3 separate regions of the Homo sapiens genome follow, and all the other regions are linked to region 2. The links are contacts of gene promoters, found by promoter capture Hi-C in human tissues and cell types (Jung and others, 2019). All regions are on one chromosome and are shown on one strand. Each heading gives the region's core, a stretch centred on a gene start or on the middle of the fragment in contact. The rest is flanking DNA. Distances are from core to core; before and after follow the strand shown. Region 1 overlaps TEK (TEK receptor tyrosine kinase). Region 2 holds the start of CAAP1 (caspase activity and apoptosis inhibitor 1). Region 3 overlaps TEK (TEK receptor tyrosine kinase).

What was found. Contacts are between HindIII fragments. The study calls those that stand out against the background at their distance.
Region 1: a fragment that was not itself captured here is called in contact with the fragment with the promoter of CAAP1 in region 2 in 1 of the 25 tissues and cell types used here (aorta).
Region 3: a fragment that was not itself captured here is called in contact with the fragment with the promoter of CAAP1 in region 2 in 1 of the 25 tissues and cell types used here (aorta).

What each region holds. Positions count from the first base shown.
Region 1 is chr9:27,203,120-27,207,171 of GRCh38, forward strand. TEK (TEK receptor tyrosine kinase) reads left to right here. Exons shown (of 23, transcript NM_000459.5): 14 at 1,792-1,946; 15 at 3,463-3,673. Among named protein-coding and RNA genes, the nearest start is that of EQTN, 92 kb to the right of the region's middle. The HindIII fragment of the contact is 5,966 bases long and covers 1-4,052 here.
Region 2 is chr9:26,890,667-26,894,738 of GRCh38, forward strand. CAAP1 (caspase activity and apoptosis inhibitor 1) reads right to left here and starts at 2,136. Exons shown (of 6, transcript NM_024828.4): 1 at 1,747-2,136. The coding sequence starts at 2,049. RefSeq lists enhancers at 1,535-2,114, 1,686-1,865, 1,946-2,165, 2,115-2,694, 2,296-2,365. The HindIII fragment of the contact is 6,456 bases long and covers 1-3,152 here.
Region 3 is chr9:27,178,984-27,183,142 of GRCh38, forward strand. It overlaps TEK (TEK receptor tyrosine kinase), which reads left to right. Exons shown (of 23, transcript NM_000459.5): 7 at 1,257-1,385. Among named protein-coding and RNA genes, the nearest start is that of TEK, 72 kb to the left of the region's middle. The HindIII fragment of the contact is 4,280 bases long and covers 473-4,159 here.

The sequences.
Region 1 (4,052 bases), core at 532-3,031, 310 kb after region 2:
GTTGGTTGAATGGACAAGTATTTACATAGGATTACCGTGCAGCCCTATAGGCAGCTGGTTTATCAGGACAGGCCTGTGAGATGAAAGCCTATGAAAAGTCGGTGGTTGAATGGACAGGCATTTACAGAGAGGTCCTTAATATCAAAATGCCTCTGAGAAGGATCCCTGTTGGTCCGTTTTCTATTATTGAACCTTAGAATAGATCAGTCTATCAGCATACCCCATCCAGCAATCTAAGAAGAAAGCTCTGAGGAATATGAATTTTAATTCCTAGGAGAAAGAAGAATGTGGGAGCTGCTTATAGAAGGCAAGCTATGCAAGAGCTCCAGTAGGAGGCTCCAAGAACCATGCTCCATTCTTCCTCAAACACTCCTTTTTTTAGCTTGGATGACATTGTGCAATTCTGAGTCTTCTTCTACTTTACTGATGCAGGTTATTCCATGTCCACCACTAACCCCAACCCCAGGAAAAGTATGTGATTTGAGCTAGATAGAGATCCTCTCTGGATGCCATACTGTGCCCACCATTTGTGATTGATAAAGTCTGTTGAGTGTAATTAAGTGAACAAGGGTCCCATGTGGGTGGAGCTGCAGCAGGAGGATTGACTTCAAGTCTGTGCAGAGGCACCTCCCGGCTCTCTGTGTTGTGTACAATGTGTGCCAGAGAATGTAGATGGAGGCACGTTAGAGGCAAGTTTTGAAAATTTATGATTTGGATTACAGTCTGTTTTTAAAGAAAATACTATAACTAAATCTGAAAACTTCTTGGTTCTCTTGGAGGATTACCTAGACCTTAAGAAACAAAATCAAACAAGTCGCTTTAACAGTGCTGATTCTTTGGAACATTTTTGAAATGCTCAAGGAATGAAGAGTCTGCCAAATATAGAAAATCATGGTTTTCAGGTCACACTCTTAGTGAATGCCCCATTTTTGTAATTACTTGTGTTTTGGCGAAATGTAACTTCCTAAATTCAAGCTATACATAAAATACCAAGAGAAAACTTTTAAAACAAGACAAAACCAAAAGTTTCTCACCATTCTAGACATCTCTGTATCTGTACATATATAGAGATAGAAGAAAAGATAAATGAGAAGAGAGGGATACTTTTAAGAGGACGAGATCATGTTCTATGTGCTATTGCTAATAAAAATATATCGAGTTTAATTTTATTTAAATAAGGAAAAGAAATAGATTTGACCATAGTCTTTAATAGTTTATTTTGACCTGAGCCCTAAATTTAATTTTTCCTCTGTCTTTTCCTGTCTTCCTCCCTCCCTCTCTCTCTTCTTCTATTGGGTATCATTAGGTTTTCTTCATTAACTCATTAAAACAAGACAAACAAAACAAAATACCTGATAGACTGTAAGCTCTTAGCATCATTGAACTTTAAAGCATTTCTAGGTGGGGAAATTGAGGTTTAGGGAGGTTTAGTCACTCTCTCAAAGTTATACCTGTAGTAATTCTCCCTATTATTCAACATTGTTCATTTGCTTGGGATTCTACTTGGAAATAAAAGTTGAACAAATGACAACTAATGATTAGCATATTGCTAATTGTAACAGCACTTTTGCATGTTTTTTTTTTTTTTAATCTTATTACAACCCTGTGAGTCAGACTCATCTCCACTGAGTTTGGAATATAAATGAGTAGCCCGAGGTCATATAGTGGTTAGGTGGCAGGGTTAAGGCTGCTGTTAAGTTCCCATTACACTGTGTCTTCTCCCACATACGGTGTGGGTCTGTTTCTCTATGTAAACTAAACTACCTGCTTCACCTCTGTCTTCCTGCACAGCACCAGCGGACCTCGGAGGGGGGAAGATGCTGCTTATAGCCATCCTTGGCTCTGCTGGAATGACCTGCCTGACTGTGCTGTTGGCCTTTCTGATCATATTGCAATTGAAGAGGGCAAATGTGCAAAGGAGAATGGCCCAAGCCTTCCAAAACGTGGTAGTGTCTCATCTTCCTACTAGCTAATAAGGGCAAGTCCAAGTACAGGCAGAACCTTCACTTTAAAGATATGGACCAGGAAATTTACTTATAAAGTAAATATTTCCCTTAGGCAAGCCTCATCTTCTCTTTGGCTTTCATTATGAAATGGGAGATAAAAAGTATGACTTTTTAATTTCTTATCCAAACCAGAACAATTTTGAGAGTGAAAAGGGTGCTCTTAGTAAATTATGCAGGAAACTAGGTCTGCCCCTGCCTGCTGAAATGAGACATATGGTCATCCTAGTAGTAAGTCCCCAGAGATGATATCTTGCAACAGAATAAATTGAACATTTTTGGTAAGGAAGGACAGAGGGTAACCAGACCTCAGTGAGATAGGTAATGACGTAATATATTAGACAAGTTTTCCTCACATTTGCCTATTTCCAGTTCCCATTTCTTTCTAGTAAGTCCCTCAATCTTATCACCCCTCGTATGTGTAAGAATTGTATATACCTGTGTGTGTCTTCCATTCCTGTGTACCCTCAGTCTGAAGTCAGAGTTCCTGGCACTTGGTACTGCCTCATTTTTTTTTTCATCTAGGAATTCTAACCAGTAGCAAAGGCCTATAAAAATCACACTTTACCAAGAGGCATCTTATTTGAGTTCTTTTGGTATACTAAAGCCTGAAAATGTATCTAGTTTGTGGGTTCAGGCCCTGTAAAATTAATTTGAACCAGACTTTATCAATTCTGTATATAATGCATTGAGTGCAATGATTCAAATGAGGTGTACCCCATGTGCATGAGTCCCCGAGTTTCCCTTCCACGGAGGACAAGAGGAACTTCACTATCTGACTCCATGCCAGAGCTGGCTCAATTCAGGCTGTCGCTGGAGAAGAAGGGCCAGCAAGGGGGTTGGGAGTGCTGAGCCTGTCAAAATACCGGTGCTTTTTCATGGTAGCACCAGCAGCTATTTGAATTCAGGAGAAAGAGATACTGTGTTGGGTTTGGCTCTAAGCTTCAATCATCTTGTGGCCAGAGTGGACTTAGAGATTCTAAGCCTTACTACGAGAGAGAAAGAGTGTGCACTAAAAATAGAGTAGGATCAAGATAATGCTAAGAAAGCTCTCACTGAGGCGCATCCTGTGGCTGCCCCACATAGGCTCTCCAAGTTAGTTTCCAAACCAGAACTGAACGCTTGCTCATTTCACAACACTGTAGGGAACTCACGTACAACTAACGCAAGGATGGCAAACACATGGAATATGTACTGTTACTCCTTCCTCCGTCACCCTTTACAGACATTGCTAATCAACAGGCTTTTCTGGGGAGGCCCAGAATTGTGCCCGTGCAGCCCTGTGGGCAGCTGGTTTATCAGGGCAGTCCTGTGTGATGAAAACCTATTTCCCTTTCCAGTCTAGAATTAAATACAGTATTTCTTTTTTCATCTGGTGTGGATGCCAACCAGAAGACATTATGCCCCTTAGAATTATGAAAAATCCTGACACAAAATGATGAAATAATTATTTTTCCAGAGGGAAGAACCAGCTGTGCAGTTCAACTCAGGGACTCTGGCCCTAAACAGGAAGGTCAAAAACAACCCAGATCCTACAATTTATCCAGTGCTTGACTGGAATGACATCAAATTTCAAGATGTGATTGGGGAGGGCAATTTTGGCCAAGTTCTTAAGGCGCGCATCAAGAAGGATGGGTTACGGATGGATGCTGCCATCAAAAGAATGAAAGGTCAGTGGTTGACCAGATAGAGTCAGCATTGCGTGAGGGTGTGGAGAAAACTTGATTTCCTGCTCATTCTTTCCTCTATGGTCTTACAAAAAATTGGCATGGTATCAGACATAGCTGTTATTTGCAACTGAAGGTTATGCTTCCTTTGAAGTTGAGCCTGTGATAGTCAGGATATCAATACAAAGGCAGGAGCCATTTAAACATCACTGTCTTGATTCATTGGGATGAGATACTATAGATTCTTGGTCATATATGGCTAACTTTTGCGGAGCATCATTGTTTCTCTTAAAGCAGTGCTTCTCCAAATTGAGTGTGCATCAGAATCACCTGGAAGGCTTGTTTAAAAACAGGCTGTTGGGCCCTACCCCACAATTTCTGA
Region 2 (4,072 bases), core at 886-3,385:
CGGGCACGGTGGCTCACGCCTGTAATCCCAGCACTTTGGGAGGCCGAGACGGGTGGATCACGAGGTCAGGAGATCAAGACCATCCTGGCTAACACGGTGAAACCCCGTCTCTACTGAAAATACAAAAAATTAGCTGGGCGTCGTGGCGGGCGCCTGCAGTCCCAGCTACTCGGGAGGCTGAGGCAGGGGAATGGCCTGAACCCGGGAGGCGGAGCTTGCAGTGAGCCGGGATCACGCCACTGCACTCCGGCCTGGGCAACAGAGCGAGACTCCGTCTCAAAAAAAACAAAAAAAAAGAAACACATACATGAAAGTAAAAATACTGAATTCCAGCCAAGTACAACAAACTCAACAAACCAAACAGCACTTGTCCCAAGACTCCAAAGACTGTTCAACATCAACTAACTTATCAACAAATTACATTATCTGACTAAAGGAGAAAAAGTATGTGATCATCTCAACAGAATGCCAGAAAACCACCTGATAAAATCTCTACATAAACTGTTTCTACTCTACCAAAGAGAATAATGAGCAGAGGATATGTACAGAAAATTACATAAGAAGAAATCAAATGGCAAATAAAAATATTAAAATGTTCAATCTCACTAATAAGGAAAATAAAAATTAAAACAAACTATTAATTTGACCCACTAGTCTGGCAATTTTTTTAAAAAATGCCATCAAAATGTCATCAAAAGCTAGTTAAGAATCTCAGAAATAGGTATTCTTATATATATACTGTTTGGACTATAAATCTGTAAAGTCTCATTTGGAAAGCATTTGGTGGCATTCATAAGTTTTTAATAGCATAAACTTTGACCCAGGAATTTCAGTTCTCACACTCTCTCCCAACATAACTCTTGTAGGAGATATATACATAAAGGTGTTTGTATTGTAGTCACAACAATACAAAAAAACCTGCACACCCAAATATCAGAAAAATATAATACAATACCAGGCAGTCAGTAAAAATAACAAACCACGTATATAAAGAAGCCTATCACAACAATGCAGGTATTCAACAGCGGGAATAACACAATACAGCTTAAGTGTAGGAACTTAAAAACACGTATCTCACGAGGAGTGATTAAAAGAGGCCGCGTATCAAAATACTAATGGAGGGGCAAGAAAAGGGACTTGACGCTTTCCCTTTATTTCCTCATTGAATGAATTTAAAGTACCTATTCATTCATTTGTTTTCAAACAAATTATGAACTTTTTTAAAACGGCGTTCTCTTGGCAGACTGGTGGCGTATAAAGAACATGGCTTTTGTAGTCAGATATTTGGATTCAAACCTAGGAGCTATTAACAAACTCTGTGACCGTGGGTAAAGTTTAACTTCTTTGGGCCTCAATTTTCTTATCTCTAATGCGGAGTTAACCATATCTACGAAAAGGTGAAGACGAAGGGAGAAGTGTTTGGCTCGCAAGGGAAATGAAGGCTAGCTTCCAACTCGTATTCTTCCGGCAGAGTGAAACCATAGGAGTGGAAGGAGCCAAGAGTTTAAAAAATAAATTAAAAAAAAAGTGATCAGGAAATCCAGAAACTTGAAGTTCAAGATTCAAGACACGGATGGGAGTGTGGGGCTCACCAGGACTTAGGTAGGAACATGAACCTCAAGGACGGACGACCTTGAGATTGCCGCGCTAGCAGTGAGCTCCAGCCTGCGCCCCATCCCTCTGGAAGCCCGACTTCTTCCGAAAAAGCAGCAGCTCCAGGAAGCGGCCAGAGGGGCGCGCACGCACCTGCTGCAAGGAGCCCGAGACGCTGGAAGAGTCGGTACTCCTCCGCTTCCGGCGCTCGCTGCGCTCCACGCTGCTCCCGCCCCAACAGCTGCCGCCGCTCCCACCGCCGGTGACACTTCCACTAAAATTGGCGTTCCCACAGCAGCTGACGCTCCCGCAGCCCCCGGCGCTCCCGCAGCCGCTAGTGCTTCCACTGCTGCCGCTGGCCAACGCGGGTACGATGTCCGGGGCCGCGAGCGCTGCGGCCGCCTCCTGACTGCTACGTTTGCGCCGTTTCTCCCGGGAGGACTTTTTCCCCGTCATGATCCCTCTGCTGCAACCATCGGAGGAAAGTCCGCTGTCTCTGGTGCGACCGAAGCCCGACTCCTGCGGCCGTGGGCGGCAGGCACTGGCGTCGCAGGTTATGCGTCACTTCCGGCCGTGGCACAGAACGTGGTGAAGCGTTATGGGCCGGGGTGGCAGGGGGGTTGCCATAACCAGTTGCGCTTCCCCCTCCGGTCGCGGAGGTCGATTTGAGTGTGTAGCGGGTAGCCTGTCTAGTCAGAGTTTGTTTTGTTTTGTTTTTATATCTCTACAAAGGATAGAAGGTGGAACTTACGTCCTTTTAACTTCAAAACTTTTTATTGTTAGTGTTTTGTCTGTTTACAATAAGGTTGAAGTATAGTTGCTGATTCTCCATTTCCGTTTACCTCCAAATCTTAAGATATTAACAACGCTATGACAATAAAGAGAATAGGGAAAAGTTGTTCCATCTCATTTTCCTCATCACCTGGGCAAATTAGGTATTTCTTGCGTAGAGTCTGACATGGACAAGTAGAGCTTGAGTTCGTTTTTGAAAATTGAGAATGGGTCAAAGCTTTATGAGATTTTATGGGTGGATGTAATCTAAATAGAAGGCAGATTTTAAGACAAGGGAGCTAGAACACTTAAAACGTGAACCAAGGTCTTTGTCGTTTCAGCAGGGGCCTTTAGCCACTGAGGGAAAAAGGTAGAGCCTGGGGCAAAGCTAGCTGGGTGGTAGTAATTCTGTGCCTTTCCCTGGGGTAAGAAGCAATTAAAGAAGCTTCCCTTCTCTTTGTCTCCTATTTGTCTCAGTCATTCAACAACTACTTAAATGCCTAAAACCAGCCTAGGGTTAATAAATAGGGACACTTCCAGCCCTAGGAAAACTGTCTTCCCCCAGGCCCCACTCTTAAATTGGCCTTGTAAGGTAAATCCTGGGGCTGAGCCCACTGTGTTCCCAGGAGTTCCGTTAAGTATCACACTCATTGGAGTCATACCTGAAAGGATTGAGAGTGTTGTGTTCACAGATAGGAAAAACACATAAAATTAATAACATGTTACATTTATAAACCTGTTATGAATTGTGTCCCTGAAACCATCATAATTTTAATAAAACTAAATTGCTAGATTTTTTCTTTTTTCTTTTTTTTTTTTTTGAGACGGAGTTTCACTCTCGTTGCCCAGGCTGGAGTGCAATGGCACAATCTCGGCTCACTGCAACCTCCGCCTCCCGGGTTCAAGCATTTCTCCTGCCTCAGCCTCCTGAGTAGCTGGGACTACAGGCATGCGCCACCATGCAGGGCTAATTTTGTATTTTTAGTAGACAAGGGGTTTCTCCATGTTGGTCAGGCTGGTCTCGAACTCCCGACCTCAGGTGATCCACCCGCCTCAGCCTCCCAAAGTGCTGGGATTACAGGCGTGAGCCATCGTGCCCTGCCAAATTGCTGGATTTGTGACAAAAGATAAGCTTTTAGTAGAAGCATAGCTAAACGTTAACCAACTTTTCCTATAGCCCACTTCCTTATAGCTGCTTATTGCTTTATAGATATCTTTGACTCGGTTAAGAAATCTCAAGTTTTCCATTTTGAGATATTTACCAGATTCTGTACTCCAATGGTGTTACAGAAGTTAAGAAATTATTTTAGGCAGATAGAGAGGTAAAGGGGTCTTTGGGAAGTTTTTTTTCTTTTAAAGCAGCTCCAGAAATGTTTCTTGTCTAGCAAAAAAGCTGGGCTGGCAAGCTATGATATGCAAATGCAGGCCGTTAGAAACTGGGTTTACTCAGTATGGCGATTCCCCTCTTCTTCTTGTCCCCACATGTGCCTAGCAACATGGCCATCCCCACATATCCCCACATGTGTAGAACATTGTGGCACCCTACATTCGCATATTAAAAGGCTAGGGTGGGAGGGCCACTTTTTTTGCAGGCTACGTGAATGACATACCTGGTCAAACCAATTCCCTGGGTCATATGCAAATTAGTCACCACCTCCTCCAGCCTCATAATATAACTGGCTCTTGTCTGCTGCACCCAAGGTTCCCT
Region 3 (4,159 bases), core at 1,363-3,862, 290 kb after region 2:
AATGTGTAAATTTCAACAAATTGGGATAATTTAAACCATTATTTCTTCAAATATTTTGTCTAACCCTTTCTCTCTGGTCCTTCTTGGACCTCCAGTTACATGTGTGTTAGATGTTTTGTCTCTTGGGTCCCTAAGGATTAAAAATCATTTTTTTCCAACCTTTTTCCTACTTTTCTTCTTTAGATGGGCTATCTATTGATGTTGCTTCAAGTTTATTGACTCTTTCTTTTGTTATCTCCATTCTGTTGCTAAGTCCATACAGTGATTATTTGATTTCAAATATTGTGTTTTTCAGTTTTAGAATTCCTTTTGCTTTTTAAAAATAGTTTCTATTTCCCTGCTGAAGTTTCTCATTGTTGCATTTGTTATGAACATATCTTCTTTTACCTTACTGAGCATAGTTATTATAGTTGTTTTAAAATTCTTGTCTATTCCAACATCTGAGTCATCACAGTTGGTCTCTATTTATTTTCTTTTCCTTTAAAAAACGGGCCTTAATTCTCCATTTCTTCTTTGGATTGTATCTTGAACATTGAAAATGTTACATTATGGAGACTCTGGAATATGATACATTCCTTTTGGGAATGTTGATTTTGTTTTGTTTTAGCAGGCAATTAACTTGGTAGGATTCAAACCTCAAACTCTCACTGTTAGGAATCAGGTCAAACTCAGTTTAGTTCTTTTATCTTTAGCTGGGCTGCTTTGAGTCTATACTGAGCATGCATGGATCAAGGATCAGCCAAAGATCTGGGACTTTTCTCTGACTCTTTCTGGGTTTTCCCTCTCTCTCCAGTGGCTGTGGTTTTCCTGACTCTGTCTCTGATGCATCAGGCCAGTAGACTGCAGGTTTTCTTTGGAGTTGTAGCTTCCATACGTGGTGTCAACTGTACCTAACAGTTAGGCTAAAAGCTGAAAATTGGGAAACACATCATTCCCATCTTCCAAATTTCAATTCCCCTCCAGAATCTTCCAGGTCTTTTTTCTTCCTATCCCACTCTTAAGTGCTTTCAGGAAGTTATTTTCTAAATGTAGTTGTACCTACAAGAAAGTTGGCATGATAGGAGCTCATTCAACTTTTTTTGGAAGCATAACTCCCCAGCTTTTTAAGTTCCTGGTAATTCAGATAAATTACCCCCTACCTTACACAAATCAGCAAAGTTGATGGCTTAGAGAGAAAAATAAAACTAAACACCTGCAGTCTTAGTTTCCTCTCTTCCCCTGGATTAATACTGGTTTTTTGATGTCTCTGTTTACAGCATGCCACCCTGGTTTTTACGGGCCAGATTGTAAGCTTAGGTGCAGCTGCAACAATGGGGAGATGTGTGATCGCTTCCAAGGATGTCTCTGCTCTCCAGGATGGCAGGGGCTCCAGTGTGAGAGAGAAGGTAAAGCAAGGTAACACTGTAGTCAGGGCCATGTTCAGCATGTCTGAACTGAGCTTTGGTAGTGTAATTCTTGTGCCGGCATTCTAAGATCCTCAAGCCTCTTTTGTTTCCATCCAGAAGTTGGGAATAGTTTATCCTAAATCCTAAAGCACAGCATTTTAATTCTGCTCTACTGACCCTAATAGTAGGCTTTATTTGTCTTTGCACTAGGCATAAACCACGTGCTCTTTGTAGCAGCTTAAGTGATGACTGGCCAGCTGAGAGCTCTCCTACCTTTTCTGCTCCCTTCTCTAGGACCAACCTTTTCCCTGGACATGCGTAACAGAGAAAGAGCAATTTGGGATGGATTTAGACAGGGGATATTTTTAAAGCAATAGAAAGAATAAAACAAATAGAAAAGATTATGCTCAAAATGAAATTTTATGTCATTCTAGTTCAGAAGTTACTCTTCAGCAGGAGTCAGCAAACTTTAACCCACAGACTAAATCCAGCCCACTATCTTTTTTTAAACAGCTTTATAGAGATACATTTTTTATATTATAATGTTCAACTTTTTAAAATGTAAATTCAGTGGTTTTTAGTATATTTACAGAGCTATGCCATCATTGCCATAATCTAATTTTACAACATATTCATCATACCAAAACAAACCTTGTACCCATTAATAGAAACTTCCATTTTCCAATCATCCTAATTTCTGACAACCATTTATTTGCAGTTGACCTTAAACAACATGGGGGCTAGGGGTACTGACCCTTCTCGCAGTAGAAAATCTACATATAATTTTTGACTCTCCAAAGACTTAACTACTAATAGCCTTCTGTTGACGAGAAGCCTTACCAATAACATAGTCAATTAACACAGAGACTAGTATCTGTATATATTTTATGCCTTCATGACATACCTTTTTCTTAATTTTTTTGGTATTTCTAGGCTACACAGTTTGTCTGTGAGTTTTTTCAAATTATCCTAAATCTCCAAAAAATTTTCCAATATATTTATTGAAAAAAATCCACATGTCAGTGGACCCATGCAGTTGAAGCCTGTATTGTTCAAGGGTCAACCATATCTTCTGTCTCTGTAGATTGCCTGTTCTTGACATTTTATATGCTGTAAACAAGATTGTATAATACGTCGTCATTTGTGACTAGCTTCATTTGCCACACCTTTTTTGAGGTTTATCTATGTTGTGGCATGTATCAGTACTTCATTCCTTTTTTATTTCTCACCATCTGTTATTATAAAGAAAAAAATTTTGGATCACAGCCACCTCCATTCATTTATAGTATGTCGTCTGTGGCTGCTTTTGTACTACAAGGGCAGAAAACATGGCTTGCAAAGCTGACTGTATTTGCTCTCTTTACAGAAAATGTTTGCTATCCACTGTCGTAGAATATACTTTTTAAAATTAAAAGAAGCAGACATATGTATTTTCAAACTTAATAAATATGTATTGCTTTTTCAATCATATAAATATAAATGCCATTGAAATAAATACATATCCAGTGAAATCTACACTCACAATAATACAGCTATGGCCTTTTTTTCTGTTACTTTTGGAAATCAGAACAAATATTGGGAGTGGGGGTGGGATGCCAGTAAGTGTTTTCTCAAAGTCCTTAAACTTTATATTTTTTCTTCTTTTGCCAAGCCTGGACTTTACTACAGGGCAGGAATCAGGGAGTGGTTAGAAAGGGAAGGAAATGCCATGGGGCTACTAGGGGATTGTATTGAACGTGGGCAGCTAACAAGTTTAAGGATTTGAATTTTGTGCTTTGTTCCTTCCCGTCTGTTCCCTTCTGCTGATGCTGCAAAAGGAGTGCATTCTGATGGGAGAATCTAAGACAGGTTAACCAGGGTGTCACTAGGGCTTTCAGAGAGTAGCTCCCTTCCCAGATTCCACTTTAGCCCAGCACATCCACCTTCACCCCCACCCAGCTTCAGAAAATACAAGGGGACGATGAAGGAAAGAAATGCTTTAAAAGTGTCAAAACATGTTTTTCAATTCCTATTCAAATAGCTACTTAGGCTGAAAAACTTGGCACGTTTTCCATAATCTTTCCAAGTTTACAGATATATCAAGGAATAACCTTGTAAGTATTAGACCTCTTTCCCTTCTCCTCCACACCTTTACCCATTTCATTCTAGGCCTGAGAAGTAGGATATCAGTATAAAATATCATTATTGACCCCGCCTCTTCCCACCACCGATAAGAAACAGTCTGTAGTTACTGCTGCTCTGAGGGCACCTCTATCGCCTACATTGTTTACTGAGTGTTGGACAATTTTCAAACATGTCTCACATTCAATTACAAATAGTCCACAGTTCCCTGAGTCCCTATGGTTCAGAATAAAATTGGTATATTTCAGGGTTATTCATTCTCTACTGTGTAGATGTTAGGCAAGAAATCCTGACACCATTACCTTTATTGACACTACAGACATTTTTCCTTCTTTCAATATTGGCAGCAACATTTTTGATTTGGCTGTTGAGTGGATACTGATTTGGGGAAGTTATATTTCACTTCTTTGATGTACTTCTTTTGTGAGCAACTTTATTCACCTTTTCCTCTTAGTTATCTGCTATTTGCAGACTTCCCAATGAATGAGACATCTCTCGTATATCTAAACTGAGGTCAATGCTGTTGAACAGCAATACCATGGGGTTATTTGATGAGTGGAGGAAGAACTAGTTTTTTGTTTGTTGTATTTTTGTAATCATTCATGTAAAAAGAAAGAGGGGGATTGAACAGCAAAGTCTAGGGGAGATATGGC